Linked DNA regions of Homo sapiens: regions 1 and 2 are each linked to region 3. The links are contacts of gene promoters, found by promoter capture Hi-C in blood cells and fetal thymus (Javierre and others, 2016). All regions are on one chromosome and are shown on one strand. The core of a region is centred on a gene start or on the middle of the fragment in contact, and the rest is flanking DNA. Distances in the headings are between cores, read along the strand shown.

What was found. Contacts are between HindIII fragments. The CHiCAGO score rates a contact against its expected background, and 5 or more counts as called.
Region 1: a contact is called between a fragment that was not itself captured here and the fragment with the promoter of UBE2U in region 3, in 2 of 17 cell types (M0 macrophages and M2 macrophages). The highest score is 5.8, in M0 macrophages.
Region 2: a contact is called between a fragment that was not itself captured here and the fragment with the promoter of UBE2U in region 3, in 1 of 17 cell types (fetal thymus). The highest score is 5.4, in fetal thymus.

What each region holds. Positions count from the first base shown.
Region 1 is chr1:63,699,331-63,704,171 of GRCh38, reverse strand. The region is part of intron 1 of LOC105378771 (a long non-coding RNA gene); the gene reads right to left. Among named protein-coding and RNA genes, the nearest start is that of ROR1, 72 kb to the left of the region's middle. The HindIII fragment of the contact is 1,394 bases long and covers 1,710-3,103 here.
Region 2 is chr1:63,743,993-63,748,307 of GRCh38, reverse strand. No RefSeq gene overlaps it. Among named protein-coding and RNA genes, the nearest start is that of ROR1, 28 kb to the left of the region's middle. RefSeq lists an enhancer at 1,736-2,030. The HindIII fragment of the contact is 167 bases long and covers 1,234-1,400 here.
Region 3 is chr1:64,201,666-64,206,414 of GRCh38, reverse strand. UBE2U (ubiquitin conjugating enzyme E2 U) reads right to left here and starts at 2,792. Exons shown (of 10, transcript NM_001366232.2): 1 at 2,299-2,792; 2 at 695-776. The coding sequence starts at 2,364. The HindIII fragment of the contact is 16,836 bases long and covers 1-4,749 here.

The DNA.
Region 1 (4,841 bases), core at 1,157-3,656, 500 kb after region 3:
GTCAGGATGAAATAGAAATCATGATAGCACAAGGCCCCTATTTTATATTCTCAGAGGGAGGCTGAGAGCTGGGAGCGCTGATGACTTTGGGGAGGGCAGCTGAAATCACTAACGCCAGCCTGGCTCTAACCAGCCTGTGCAGTTTTAAGTGGTCTAATCAGCCCTGCTTTTCACAAACACAAATAAATAAAAATTGACATTACATCGGGCAACAATATGGCATGCCCTGTGCAATTAGAACCAGCTGAGTTTATGCACCCCACGGTTTACAGAGAAGGCAGCCATGCACTGCACTCTGGGGACAGATGTCTATGTGGCTTCTTAACACACATGTTCCAGCGCAACGGTTCCCAACCCCTTGGGGGTGGGGGGTGCAGAGTTCTTTCAGATGGCTCCACAGATGCATACGTTACAACAGCCATGTCAACAGACTGGTTAAATCCTGGCTCCCATATAGACGTGGGTAATTCTCAAGTGTGCCTCCATCTCCTGGAGGCTTTTGTTCCTTAGTTATTTTCTCAATTAACAGATACTAAAAGCACCAGAACCGTGACGTGGGGGTGAAGTCTTTTACGTTAAGAAACAGTTCTCATGCTCAAAGGGGTTGTATCCCATTGTTCTAATGTGACAAAACCCCAGAATGTATTAAAATCAAGTTTGAGAATGCTGTGGCCACATGGAGAAAAGGAACCACAGGGGTCTGAGAAAGAACAGCAGACGAAACCTGCTCTGGAAGCTCCACAGCTGGACCTGCTCTTGGAATCAAAAGATTCCTCTGCTCTATGATTTCTCTCACCCGGTCACCCATTCCCTGGTTCTCCAGCCTTGCCTCCCTCCAGAGAGGGGCTGTACACTCTGCAGAGGTGAGGAGTGACCTTGCTAAAGTACAAATCTGAATGTGACATTCCCAAGCTCCAGGAACTGCCCACTGCCCTGGGCACAAAGCCCAAACTATTTTTTTTTTTTTTTTTTTTTTTGAGACGGAGTCTGGCTCTGTAGCCCAGGCTGGAGTGCAATGGCACAGTCTCGGCTCACTGCAACCTCTGCCTCCCAGGTTCAAACGATTCTCTTGCCTCAGCGTCCCGAGTAGCTGGGACTACAGGCACGTGTCACCACACCCAGCTAATTTTTGTTTTTTTTGTTTTTTGTTTTTTTAGTAGAGACGGGGTTTCACCATGTGGGCCAGGCTGGTCTCGAACTCCTGACCTCAGGTGATCCACCTGCCTCAGCCTCCCAAAGTGCTGGGATTACAGGCATGAGCCATCGTGCCTGGCCAGCCCAAACTCTTTCAAGTGCTCACAAGGCTCTAGGCAACACCCAGCCCACCCCCTCTCCTCTCTAATTTCATCTCCTGCCTCCCTCTCCCACTCCAGCCCCCCTGCTCTCTGCCTTCTTTGAATCCATCCACCCCCAGCCTGGCCTCTGCATTTACACACACGTATACCTTCAGCCCGGAACACTTTCTCCCTCCTCACCTTTGCCTGAATAACTTCAGCTCTCTGAAGTTATTATCTGAAATTATCTGAATAATTTCAGATCTTGTTTTAGAAGCCACATATTATACCTTGGAAAGGTTTGCCAGAGTTTTCGCCAAGACTGAGATTGGAAGGAGGTGCCCCTCCTGTGGCTACAGCTTCCTGTAATAGTTTCACGGGAGCATGAACTAGGGCTGATTCCCTAACCATTTCTCCATCGCCAGACCTTAAGCTTCACGAGGGCCAGGCTGAGCTCTGTTGGCTGACATATCCCTCTGGAAGGAGCTCAATATGCAGCTGCTGAGTGAATGTGTTCAGTGAGCATCTTTCCCACTGTGTGATCTGATGAGTGATGTTTTAGACAGAGGAACCTCTAGGCACTGCCCACCGCATCACCCCACATAGCCAAACACTTATCCTGAAAGCACAGATTGTTTTCGGCACAGGTACTAGTTGTTGTTGAAGAACACAGCAAAGGCCCTCAGGAAGTTCTGGCATTGGTTACAAGTGCTTAGAGAAAGACATGCTTGAATTGAGAGTAAAAACAAGAGAGAAAAGAGTTAACTCAATGGAAAAGATAGAAGAAGAAAGAGACAGGAAAGCACTCACAACTTCTTCCCCGCCCTCTCACGTCTGAACCATTTCCTGACCAGAAAACTATTTCTTAATTTTTACTTTTAATTATTTTATTATTTCTTATTTCTGTGGGTACATAGTAGGTGCATATATTTATGAGGTACATGAGATACTTCAATACAGGCATGCAATGTTTAATAATCACGTCATGGAAAAGGGGGTATCCATCCCCCCAAGTATTTATGTCTTGTGTTAAGATGCCTGGGTTCTGGTTATGACCTCCTCTCTAACTAGTTGGGGACCCTGGGCAAGTCACTTAACCTCTCTGAACTTCAGTTTCCTCATCTGTGTACTCTTTTTGTTATTTCTTTTTGTTATTTCTAAATGTTCTCTTTTTTGTTATTTATACTCTTTTTGTTATTTCTAAATGTTCAATGAAATTATTATTGACTATAGTCACCCTGTCGTACTATCAAATACTAGGTCTTATTATTCTTTCTAACTATTTTTATTTTGATACAAGTCTTTCAGGTCTGTCTTAAAGTCATAGGATGTTAAGGGCTAAAAAGGCCCAGAGAGAGCAGTAAGTTGCCCAAATTTGCCCAACTAGAGAGGGGCAGAATTCAAATGAGAACCCGGGTTTCTGATGCCAAGCTGCCTCCTCTCTGCAGAACGCCGTGGTGCTTAGGCCCACGTGCACACTTCTCTGGAGAGATCGTGCCAAGCCCCAGAAGTAGCATGTGTGCCCTTCAGCCTGAGACTGCCTTGGTAAATACATATTGCTTCCTGGCTTGCAAAGCAAATATTTACTCAAAACCCACATAGCACGGTGCATAAGTTCCTGACATCCCCAGGCAGTTTCTAACTCACTTATCATTTATTTTAAATTTGTTTTTTAGTGCATGTATTTTCTGCATTAGACTTGGAATAAACAGAGTTCAGAGTAGACGCTGGACAAACCGAAAAGTGGTTTGTACTAAAAAGCACTAGTCTCTGCCTATCACCTCTAAATTCCAATTTCTGAGAAGTCTGTGAGCAGAATCAATCAAGCTTAAATGGAGTCAGTGCTCCATTTAAAGGCAGTCTTTAAGGCAACACAACATGGTGTCCTTTGGGAAATGGGCTGAAGAATTAAGGAGTCACAAATGGCTCACATCATTTGCATAATATTGAGATTCAGGATATCTGGGTTCTGGTTATGACCTTCTCTCTAACTAGTTAGTGACCCTGGGCAAGTCACTTAACCTCTCTGAATTTCAGTTTCCTCATCTGTGTAAAGTGATTAATGATAGCTTTCTACCTAATTCACTATATATATGGACAACAGGCCAAATTGAAGGTCAAGTCCCACATCTATTGACCAAGTATTAAAGGCCTACTAGGGGCCTGGCTGTTTTATGAACTGAGCAGACGGCAGTGAAAAAAATGAAAATGAAAACCTGTCTTCATGGAGCTTGATTTTGTAGGAGACAGACAGATGGTAAATAAAAAATAAGTAGTAATGGGTCTGAAGCTAAGTTGTAAGAAGAAAAATCACCATGATAAGGGAATAGTAGTTTGTGGGGGGTGCCGTTTTATGAAGGATGGCCAGTGAGATGCTCTCTGATGAGTCCTGAAGGAGATGGAGGAAGAAAGAGTTCCCAGGCAAGAGGAGGAGTGGAAGCAGAGGCTCCAGGGGTAATGCTTAGGGTGTTCAAGTTGGGAAGACCACGGTGGCTGGTGCAGAGTGAGTGGAGAAGGATGGAGATGGAGTCAAGAAGGATGGATGGGCTGGGAGTGGTGGCTCACGCCTGTAATCCCAGCACTTGGGAGGCCGAAGCAGGCAGATCATTTGAGGTCAGGAGTTCAAGAGCAGCCTGGCCAACATGGTGGAACCCCATCTCTACTAAAACTACAAAAATCAGCCAGGTGTGCCGGCACATGCCTATAATCCCTGCTACTTGGGAGATGAAGGCAGGAGAATCTCTTGAGCTCAGGAGGTGGAGGATGCAGTGAGCCGAGATCATACCACTGTACTCCAGCCTGGGCAACAGAGCGAGACTCTGTCTCAAAAAACAGAAACAAAAAAAAAGAAGGAAGGATAGAGTTCCTAAAATGTAGTGTGCAGATGTGCACAAGCATCCCTGGATGTCCTGGGAAAGGTGATCTAGAGATCCCCCATTGTCATAAACACTGGCCTGGAGTCTTGCCTGTCCAAAGAGTTCCCTAGACCACAATAAACACCACTCCAACTTGACTCGAGAATGTGGAAGGCTCCCTGGTTGACCACGAACATATACCCATCCACATCAGCTCAGCACATATAAATTACATGGTAGAAGTTTTGTCAGACTTTTAGTCCTTCTTTAGTTTAAACTACTATGCTTTAGAATATTTCCTCTGCAGAGCTGGAGAACATTAATTTGGACATTGTTAGAAAGAGACATGAAGGAGAGGGCAGGCCAGCCACAGCTGCCTTCATTCATGAGCAGCCTTTAGTTCTTTACGTGAAGTCTGACAGAGGTTCCCAGCCTTGATCCATACCTGCCAGTACCTTGCCTGCCTGCACGGTGCTATTTCCAAGAATAAGTATGCTGGGCATGAGTCTTGATCATAACCTGAGAATGAAGCCTCACCCCCTGTGTCTCTACAAGCCTGAATGATCTCAGAATGATCATAGCCTGAGAACTCCTGCCAGGCAGGTTGGAGCCATCAGCAGGCCCACATGGGCCAGGGAAGCAAGGCAGGATCCCACGTCTGGTGGGCAGGCAGTTAAGGTGGGCACTGCAGAAGTGATGGCACATGCCTATC
Region 2 (4,315 bases), core at 68-2,567, 460 kb after region 3:
GGCAGTGAGAAGCAGTATAGCATGGTAGTTACAAGTAAGGAGGCCCTGGGTTCAAATCCCAGCTCTGCCACGTATTAGCTGTTTACCTTAGACAAGTTACTTACAGTCTCTGTGATTTCATGTTCTTATCTGTGTAAACGGGACAGGTCACACTAGTACCTACCTTGTAAGACTGTTGTGAGGTGTAAATAAACAAATGCACTTAAGATGCTAAGGCCAGTGTCTGGCACACATAAGAAACCATTGTACATGTTAGCTGTTGAGATTGTCCTCTTGGATGACTCTCTTTCCTTCAGCAAATCCCTAGTCTGTAATTGCAAACAATTGTAAGACCACTTTGGAATATATTCCCACTGCCTTCAAACCCATGTCAAAGGAGACGGCCCTCATGATTGTCACCTCACTCACCTTTGACTTGAGATTTTGATCCCATCTGTTCTGATAAGTGTGCTATAATTGTCTCAACTAACTTTGCAGATTGGTGGTGCCAGGATTCCTCTCTGAAGCAAAACGCCAGTAGCAAGTGCTGAGCCAGCTCTGGGATGGACAGCAGGAGTTGGCAAGGCTAGCCAGAGTCAGCTGAGGCTTGCACCGCAGGGCCCTGTGGAGTCCAAGTTACAATTTAAAGATCTTGGACCTCCTGAAAGGCACAGAGAGGAGAATGCTCCCTGGCTGACAGTGGGACTCCTCCCCAAGACTCTTCCAAGAGAGAGCTGCCTGGAGGGTGACGTAAGGTATGGCATAGAGTTACAACAATTCCGAGCCCCTAAATCTTGTGTTCCGACCCCTCGGCTGAGCTCCACACACAGCTGGTCTTCTGGCTGTGCCTGCTTCCATCACTGATTCCTGCTTAAAGCACATGTTTTCTGCTCTGCAAGTGCACTCAGTGCATCTGGGAATGCACGAAAGCTCCTGCCTCCAGCCTCTCAAGATACTAAACACACCTTACAAACATGTGTCTTTCCATTGTCAAAGAATGCAGCATGGAATGTTTGGGACATATGGTTTAAAAGAAGCCTCAGTCAACAATACCAACTAAAAAACCACCTTACTGAGGTGGGGGCTCAATAAAGCATTTCTCCAGGCAGTCGCATGTAGGCCACACACTCATCTTCCACACTGGTTGAAAGCATCTAGAACCTGGTGCCACGGGCTCCTGAAGTCACCCAAGGCTAAGCAAAGCCATCTTCCTGAAACATTTATTTTATCTAAGGGAAGCAAAAATAAAAAGCTTCACCTTTACCTTAAGAATATAAAATATATTTAATATAAATGTGGCAATTAATATAACAAACTTCATAGTTCAAATGAAATTTTTAGATAAGACGCAAGATTTGGTAGTAAGTTTGCATCGGAGGTAGTAAGTTTGCTGCCATAAGGGGTGTTTCTACAGGAAAGCTTTAAACATGTTGGGCCTTACTCATGGTCTGAAGTGCAAGAGAGAAGGCGGCACCACAGAGCCGGAGTGCTGGGTGTGGGGTCCAGAGGCCTGCAGGTGGGCCTAGTCTCTGCCACCTCCTTACTGTGTGACCTCAGCACTCTTCTGGAAGGTCTAGCGGGAATGTTGGTCTAACAGAGATGTTAATCCTGGTCCCCTGTGCCTCCCAGGGCTGCTGTGAGAGTCAAATGAAACAATGCGTGTGAAAAGAGCCTTAGAAACGGCAGAGTGTTCCATAAATGTAAGTTCTTATGATTCAGCCTTGTTGTTTTTGGAAAGCCTCTTTCATTTTATAGATCGCATGTATTCTCCCCGCCTCCCATAGTCAGATCAAAAGTGTTTGCCTTTCCCTTCAGAGCGAGGAACCTCTGATCTGACACGAAGCAATGAAGTCACCAAGCTTCCTCTCACTCAGCTTTATGCCCCAGCCTTGGGAGAAGCATGCTCCCTGCCAGCCCACGCCACCTTGTTCTGAGGGGAAGTTAGTCACCACTGTCTGAATTTCATTATGCAGGTCTCCAGACAAGCAGAGGGGAAAAGTGCAAAGGAGCAGGTCAGCGTCTGAAATGTGAGAGGGTAGCAGTCTCTGAAGTGTATGGGAATGGGAGGAAACCTAATACTGCTCCCAAGGGGAGGGGGAGCATTGCATCATGTGGAAATAATTGCAGGCGGTCAGCACAGCTTGGGGTTTGGGGAGGCAGGATAGCCCACTGACCCACTTGCAAAAGGGTTTTGACACTTTTCTGTTGTAAAGGGTACTTGCATGGGGACACTAATACATCAGCCTGGGTGCCTGCAGGGACTAGAGATTAGAGCAGGTCCTAAGAGACTAGATTCTATGGGATTCTGCTTGCAGGTGGTTTGAACCCAAACTAGAATTCTGAAAGGAGCCCCAGAGTTGAGAACTGGAGAGGATGGGGCCCACGAATTAGTCAAAACTACCATTTATTGATGTATTATTTAATACATCCTAAGTACATACTTCAGTTGATCCTCACAATAACCCTATAGGTAGGAATTATCATCCCCATTTTATGTACAAAGAAACAGACTCAATGAGTTGAGCGACTTTTCTGAGAGCACACAGCTAGTAGGAGGCTGAGCCAGAGTGTGAATCCAAACCTGTGCAAATGCAGATTTCTTGATTGGAAACCCTTTGATACAACCGTCTTTAAGTAGAAAGAGGAGCCATGATGGGAATTGGGTGGAAAGCGAACCAAAGTGCAAACACAAAAGGAACAAAGGAGGAAGGTCTGGATTTCTGACATGTTGCTGACTTGCTCTGGGCTGGAGAAAACATGAGTATGGTTTCTTCTGTGTGTTTGTAATGTAAGCATTGGCCACCTTTCCCCAGTAGGTAACCAGTGGCCTTACTGCAGAGTTTCTGTGGGGCTGGGTGAGAGTGGGGCAGCCACTATTAGAAGGAAATGCAAAAGCCACAAGCATAAGAAAGAGGGCATGATAGAGGGGAGCAGACTTCCTGTCACTGATGAGATTTTCCTCTGGTGCTTTTGTCAGCTCTCTATTGCTACGATAATGCTACATAACAAACCATCCCAATGTCTAGTGTCTTTAAACCACAGCCATTTACTATTTCTCATGCATCTAGGAGCTGGCTGAGCAACCATGCTGGTCCAGGATGGGCTCAAAGTATGCAGCTGAGCTTGTTATGTGACTGCCCACAGCTGGAAGGTCTGCCAGAGTTGGCTGATCTAGGATGGCCTCAGCTGGGAATATGCATCTCTGCTTCATGTCATGTCTCATCTTCCAGCAGGCTAGTTCAGGATTGTTCTCCTAATAAAGGCAGAGGGGCAAAAGAAAGTGGAAATGTTCAAGAACTCTTGATCTTAGAATTGACCAAGATGGCCAGGTGCGCTGACTCACGCCTGTAATCCCAGCACTTTGGGAGGCTGAGGCGGGTGGATCACGAGGCCAGCAGTTCAAGACCAGCCTGGCCAAGATGGTGAAACCCTGTCTCTACTAAAAGTACAAAAATTAGCTGGGCGCGGTGGCAGGCTATAATCCCAGCTACTTGGGAGGCTGAGGCAAGAGAATCACTTGAACCTGGGGGATGGAGATTGCAGTAAGCCGAGATCACGCCATTGCACTCCAGCCTGGGCAACAGAGTGAGACTAAACTCAAAAAAACGAACTGACCAAGAGGTCTTGGTTTAAGACCTTAGGCTTGGAACCGATATACCACTACCTCTGCCACATTCTACTGGCTAAAAGTAAGTCACAAGACAGCCCAGATTCAAGGGGTAGGAAATAGACTCCATTTCTTAATGGAGTTGCTGGCAAAGTCACAGTGCAAAGTACTTGAAGAATTGCAGCCATTTTTTGCAATCAATCTGACATGGAAACCCATCCCAGTCCCAAAAACAGATGAAAGGCAGTGGCATTTCCCAATATTCTGGACTATGCCCACTTCCTTACCAAAAACCCTTTGCCCACTAACTGCCATTTCCCTGCCCAGTCTGTCTGTTTTATTAACACTAGACTGGGGAGGGAGAGATATAATGACTCTAGAATTGGGCAGATAAAACAATGTGTCTGACTTCTTTTTTAAAGGTACTAAAATTCAGACTCTTTACCCACTGACTTCATCGCTGTAGTTTTTGTAACTACGAAAGTTTCATTAGAAAGTATACTTAAACTTTCTCAGTGAGCCATCCCAGCCTGGCCATACTTGTATGAGAATGCTGTCAAATTCCAGGAAACAGATGTTCATTTAATAAGATGAATTTTTACTAATACTTCCACCCCACTGTTAATACTGTGTTTGTGATTTGAATTTAAGACACTAAACTTCTGCAATTTATTTCCTACAGTGTGGCTGAGATCATAGGCTTCCCAGAGGTACACCTTTGAAATCCCC
Region 3 (4,749 bases), core at 1,543-4,042:
ATTTCCTTATCCTTCTTCTGAACCTGGCAGATTCTTCAGGACTCAACTCAAATGTGATCTCCTTGGGAAGACATTCCTGACTCCCTCAGGCATAATTAACTAATCCTCTTCCTCTTTAGCATTCTGTTCAAAATCCATAATAATGTATATTTTATTGTAATTATCAGCTGATGTGTTTGTCTCCCCTACCTCACTCAAGGAATCTATCTTATTAATCCATAATTGAAAGAAAACATGAGCATTAAAGTTTATAGTGGCTTAGTGTTCTTGAGATTTTTTGATTTATGAAAATTTGGGGGAAAATCATAAAGGAAAAAATGAGAAGTAACTGTGGGGTTTTGAAGCCAATAGGAATTTTGATAGTTATTCCCTGATCTCACGGAAGGCAGACGATATTCTCTCAATTGATATGCTCTATTGTGTCTGCTTCTTAAAAATGTAATAAAATTAAGATTTGGCATAAAGAAAAATACCCCAAATTTCCATCTATGTTGACACATGGCAAAAAAGTCATAAATAAAAAAAATGGGAATATTTTTAGAATTTTAGACAACTGGTATAATGCAAACTTATGCATATGAAGAAGAATTTCAGGAAATTTATATAATGCGACCTTATCCTACATAAAAAGAGGATGGGCTAATAATGGTATAAAGACTTTTTTAAAAAATAGATTGGTTTTGAAAATACAAACCCTGCCAAACTGAATTCTGTAGACCTTCAATTTCAACTTCCCATTCCATCATATCTTCACTTACAGGCTTAGCAGTGATACCCTTGAAGTTAAAAACAAAATTAAATCAGAAAAAACTTATTAAGTATTTATTGAAGTTTTGAAAATCATATACCAGGTCACACTGAATTCTAAAAACTCTAAATTTTCTTTCCTTGATAAGTTTATTTATTTGCTGCTCTGGGGAAGTGTTACATGTCTTATTTCACGGAAGTTAATATAGATCCCAGAAAACATATGCAATAGTAATTAAAAATAAATCATAAGTGTGGAAATCACAAGTGGGACTAGAGAGTCAAGATTAGAATGTGTGGCTTATATACTGTTTGTGTAAATCAATAACCAATTTAATATTCAAATTTTAAAAGAAAGAAATAGTTGGAAAGTGCATGTTTCTTCAAAACATTTTAGAGCTATATGAATGCTATATGAAAGGCATGAAGTGGGAACATTTTCATTAAGAAAAAATCCAAAATTACACTTGTATATAAAAGCAAAGTTTTCCTATACTTGAGGAGTTGTTCCAATGGAGGGACAAGAATGTATTTCATAGAAAACCTTATGAATTACGTTAAGTAACACACTTACAAACACATAAAAACACTTCTGAGCATCCACATAGTTATTAAGTATGTTAGTGCTTGTCTGGGTGAGCCCTGTCTCTCTATTATCTATATTTACATATTCCTTCATTGGATTCTCTTTCAACAGAGAACTACAGAGCTCAGGATGAGCAGAAACAATATCAAATGTTAGGTCCATGCCCCAGGAATGTTCGCTGTTGGACTCCATAATTGTTCCTAACATCTCCAGTGAATGCAGTACTTTTATAGCAGAGGTAAAAAATGAACAATGCCACTGAACTACACCTGAAGCAACTGTGGGAAGCACTCTATACCTTTCATGGACAGCTTTCTTTCTGTTCTTTCTCTTAAGCACTCCCTCTTCGCCCCCTCTTCCATTTTTCATTTTCCGTAAATCAGCCTGTGGCAGCCATGGACATTGATAACCTCATTGGTGGCGTTTAAGCCCAAGGACATTGCTTCTTTTGTGTTAAAACTATAAAGGGAAGGCATTTATGTGTCATGCTGGTAAAAGTACACTAGACAGTAAGCAGTGGAACACAGGAATTAAGAACTAGGGCTTTGAAGTCCAAAAACCCTGTAATGGAATCATGGGGCAAAATCTTTACAGAATATTTCTGAGGCTTAGGTTTTTGGTAAGTAAAATGAAATACTACTTATTGTATAGTATTATAATTAATGAGCATAAGCCTGCACCTACTAGTCACTAACTACATGACAGACCCTGATATTCAGTGCCTAGATCCACATAAATTACTCTGCATAATATGTTCAATATTGTTAAGCATTATTATTTTGAAGTAATAATAATTGTTATTAATATGAAACACATTACTTCAGTGAAATGGATTTATTAAATAACAATACTGTAGTGGCAAATCAGGTTTAACTAAATTACTACTTATAGAATAAAATGGGTTAAACTGCCTCTTAAAAATTATTGCACAATGAAACACATCTCTCCACGTGCCCAGTACTTACCTTATAATTGTTCTCCTTGAGATCACAGAAGTCTCTGTGCAGCAAGAGGTAAGCTCTGCCGTGCATGATAGGCAGCGGAGGGTCTGACACTTGTCCCCAAATGCCTCAGGTTTACTCTGAGGCAGATGTTTGAAGTTATGGGTCACTTTCCCACACTTAGTAAACTGATATAAGTTACTTGCTTTCTAGAACCTCAGAACGGTACCAAGATAAGCGGCTTCTAAAGTTGGGATATAACAATGACTTTTTCTCCTGACTCCTCTAAACGAGAACTTCCCGAAGGAAGACTTGGGCACTTCCTCATCTGCGGCGTTTCACTGCAGTGCCGGCTCACAGCCCAGTCTCAAGACAAACTTGGATGAGTAACGGAGACAAGCCCATGTCGTCGGCGCGTGAGTGGGAGTGAGAGGTGTACGCCTATCAGGGTCCTAGCAGGTTGTCTTCGCTTCACAGGTGCAACCCCGCAGCCACGCACCGGAGGAAGCAAATCGGTTGCCAACCAACAGGCCCCCGTGGGGCCGCCGAGAGACGGAGGCAGGGGGTTGGCCGCTCTCACCCAATCAGCGACAGGGGGCAGGCCTCTTGCTATCTCCACAGCCAATCCTACAACAGTTTCCCCTTTGAAAGGCCAATGAGATTCGTGGTCAAGGCAACACCACGCCTTCTCAGGCCACGAACATGGACTGTACAAAACTAGTGTAGAGGATGGGGTGAGGTCCCAGGACCCAGCATGTAAGTCACAGAAGCCGTCCCACGAAGTCTTTCTTCGAAATTATCCTTCCTTTTTCTTTGACTATCAAAAGATATAGTAAGTGACTGGTAGGTACAGGTCTGCATAACAATATCTTAACTTACATGGCGAGTTACCATTCACAGTAGTGTGCATGCTATTATGTCATCAAACCCTACAATCACCCTGGGAAAGTGCTCCAGGAACAGGGAACTGCTTAAAATTTCTCTGATTCCCATCTCTTCCCGCACAGTTTCGCACCTGCTGTTCCTTCTACCTAGGAGTTTACCACATTCCTTCCACCCCTTCAGCCCTCATTTCCCCTTCACTCACTCATCCTTCAGATTTTAACGACTCTTTAAGGGATCCTTTCTTTTGTGATCCCACAGGACCTTCTATTTGCCTCCTAGTTAACATTTGCCATACGGCATCACAATTGTCTATTGTCTTCACCAGAGTGGGAACTACTGAAAGACACGGTTCCATTGCCAGCGCCAACTACAAAGCCTGGCATCTTTGTTCAGAATACTTTCTTTTTTTACTTTTTACTTACTAATTTTATAGAATCCGGATGTTCATTTAGTCCATTCATTTTACAAATATTTATTAAATACTTTTTTTTTACTTGAAAGATTCAAATGAAGTAAATGTCTTTATGGCTCCAATATACAATAAACAAGTATGCAAAACAAAAATCATGATTTCAGATGGTGATAAACGTTATGTGGACAATAATAAAACAGTACCATGATAGAGATTGGGGTAGGTCATTAAGGATTAGAAATGGTAGTCAGGAAATGCCTCTGTAAGGAATGGGGTTTTGAACTCATACATGAAAGATGAGAAGGAGCCTGCTACATGAAATATTGAGGGCAGAGAGTTCTAGGAAGAGGAAAACAAGATATTTTTGAGTCAGGAAAGAGCTTGTCTTGAAAAGGGAACAAGGGAAGGTCAGGGAGGTTGTGGAGGAGCCTGGGAGGGGTGTGATAAAGATGGGCACTATACAGTAGGAAGTTTGGGCTTTATTTGAATAGCTATGGGAATCCATTTAATGGGTTTAAACAGGAGAGTGTCATGCTCTGATTTATTTATTTATTTATTTATTTATTTATTTATTTTATTGATCATTCTTGGGTGTTTCTCGCAGAGGGGGATTTGGCAGGGTCATAGGACAATAGTGGAGGGAAGGTCAGCAGATAAACAAGTGAACAAAGGTCTCTGGTTTTCCTAGGCAGAGGACCCTGTGGCCTTCCGCAGTGTTTGTGTCCCTGGGTACTTAAGATTAGGGAGTGGTGATGACTCTTAACGAGCATGCTGCCTTCAAGCATCTGTTTAACAAAGCACATCTTGCACCGCCCTTAATCCATTTAACCCTGAGTGGACACAGCACATGTTTCAGAGAGCACAGGGTTGGGGGTAAGGTCACAGATCAACAGGATCCCAAGGCAAAAGAATTTTTCTTAGTACAGAACAAAATGAAAAGTCTCCCATGTCTACTTCTATCCACACAGACCCGGCAACCATCCGATTTCTCAATTTTTTCCCCACCCTTCCCGCCTTTCTATTCCACAAAACCGCCATTGTCATCATGGCCCGTTCTCAATGAGCCGCTGGGCACACCTCCCAGACGGGGTCGTGGCCGGGCAGAGGGGCTCCTCACTTCCCAGTAGGGGCGGCCGGGCAGAAGCGCCCCTCACCTCCCGGACGGGGCGGCTGGCCGG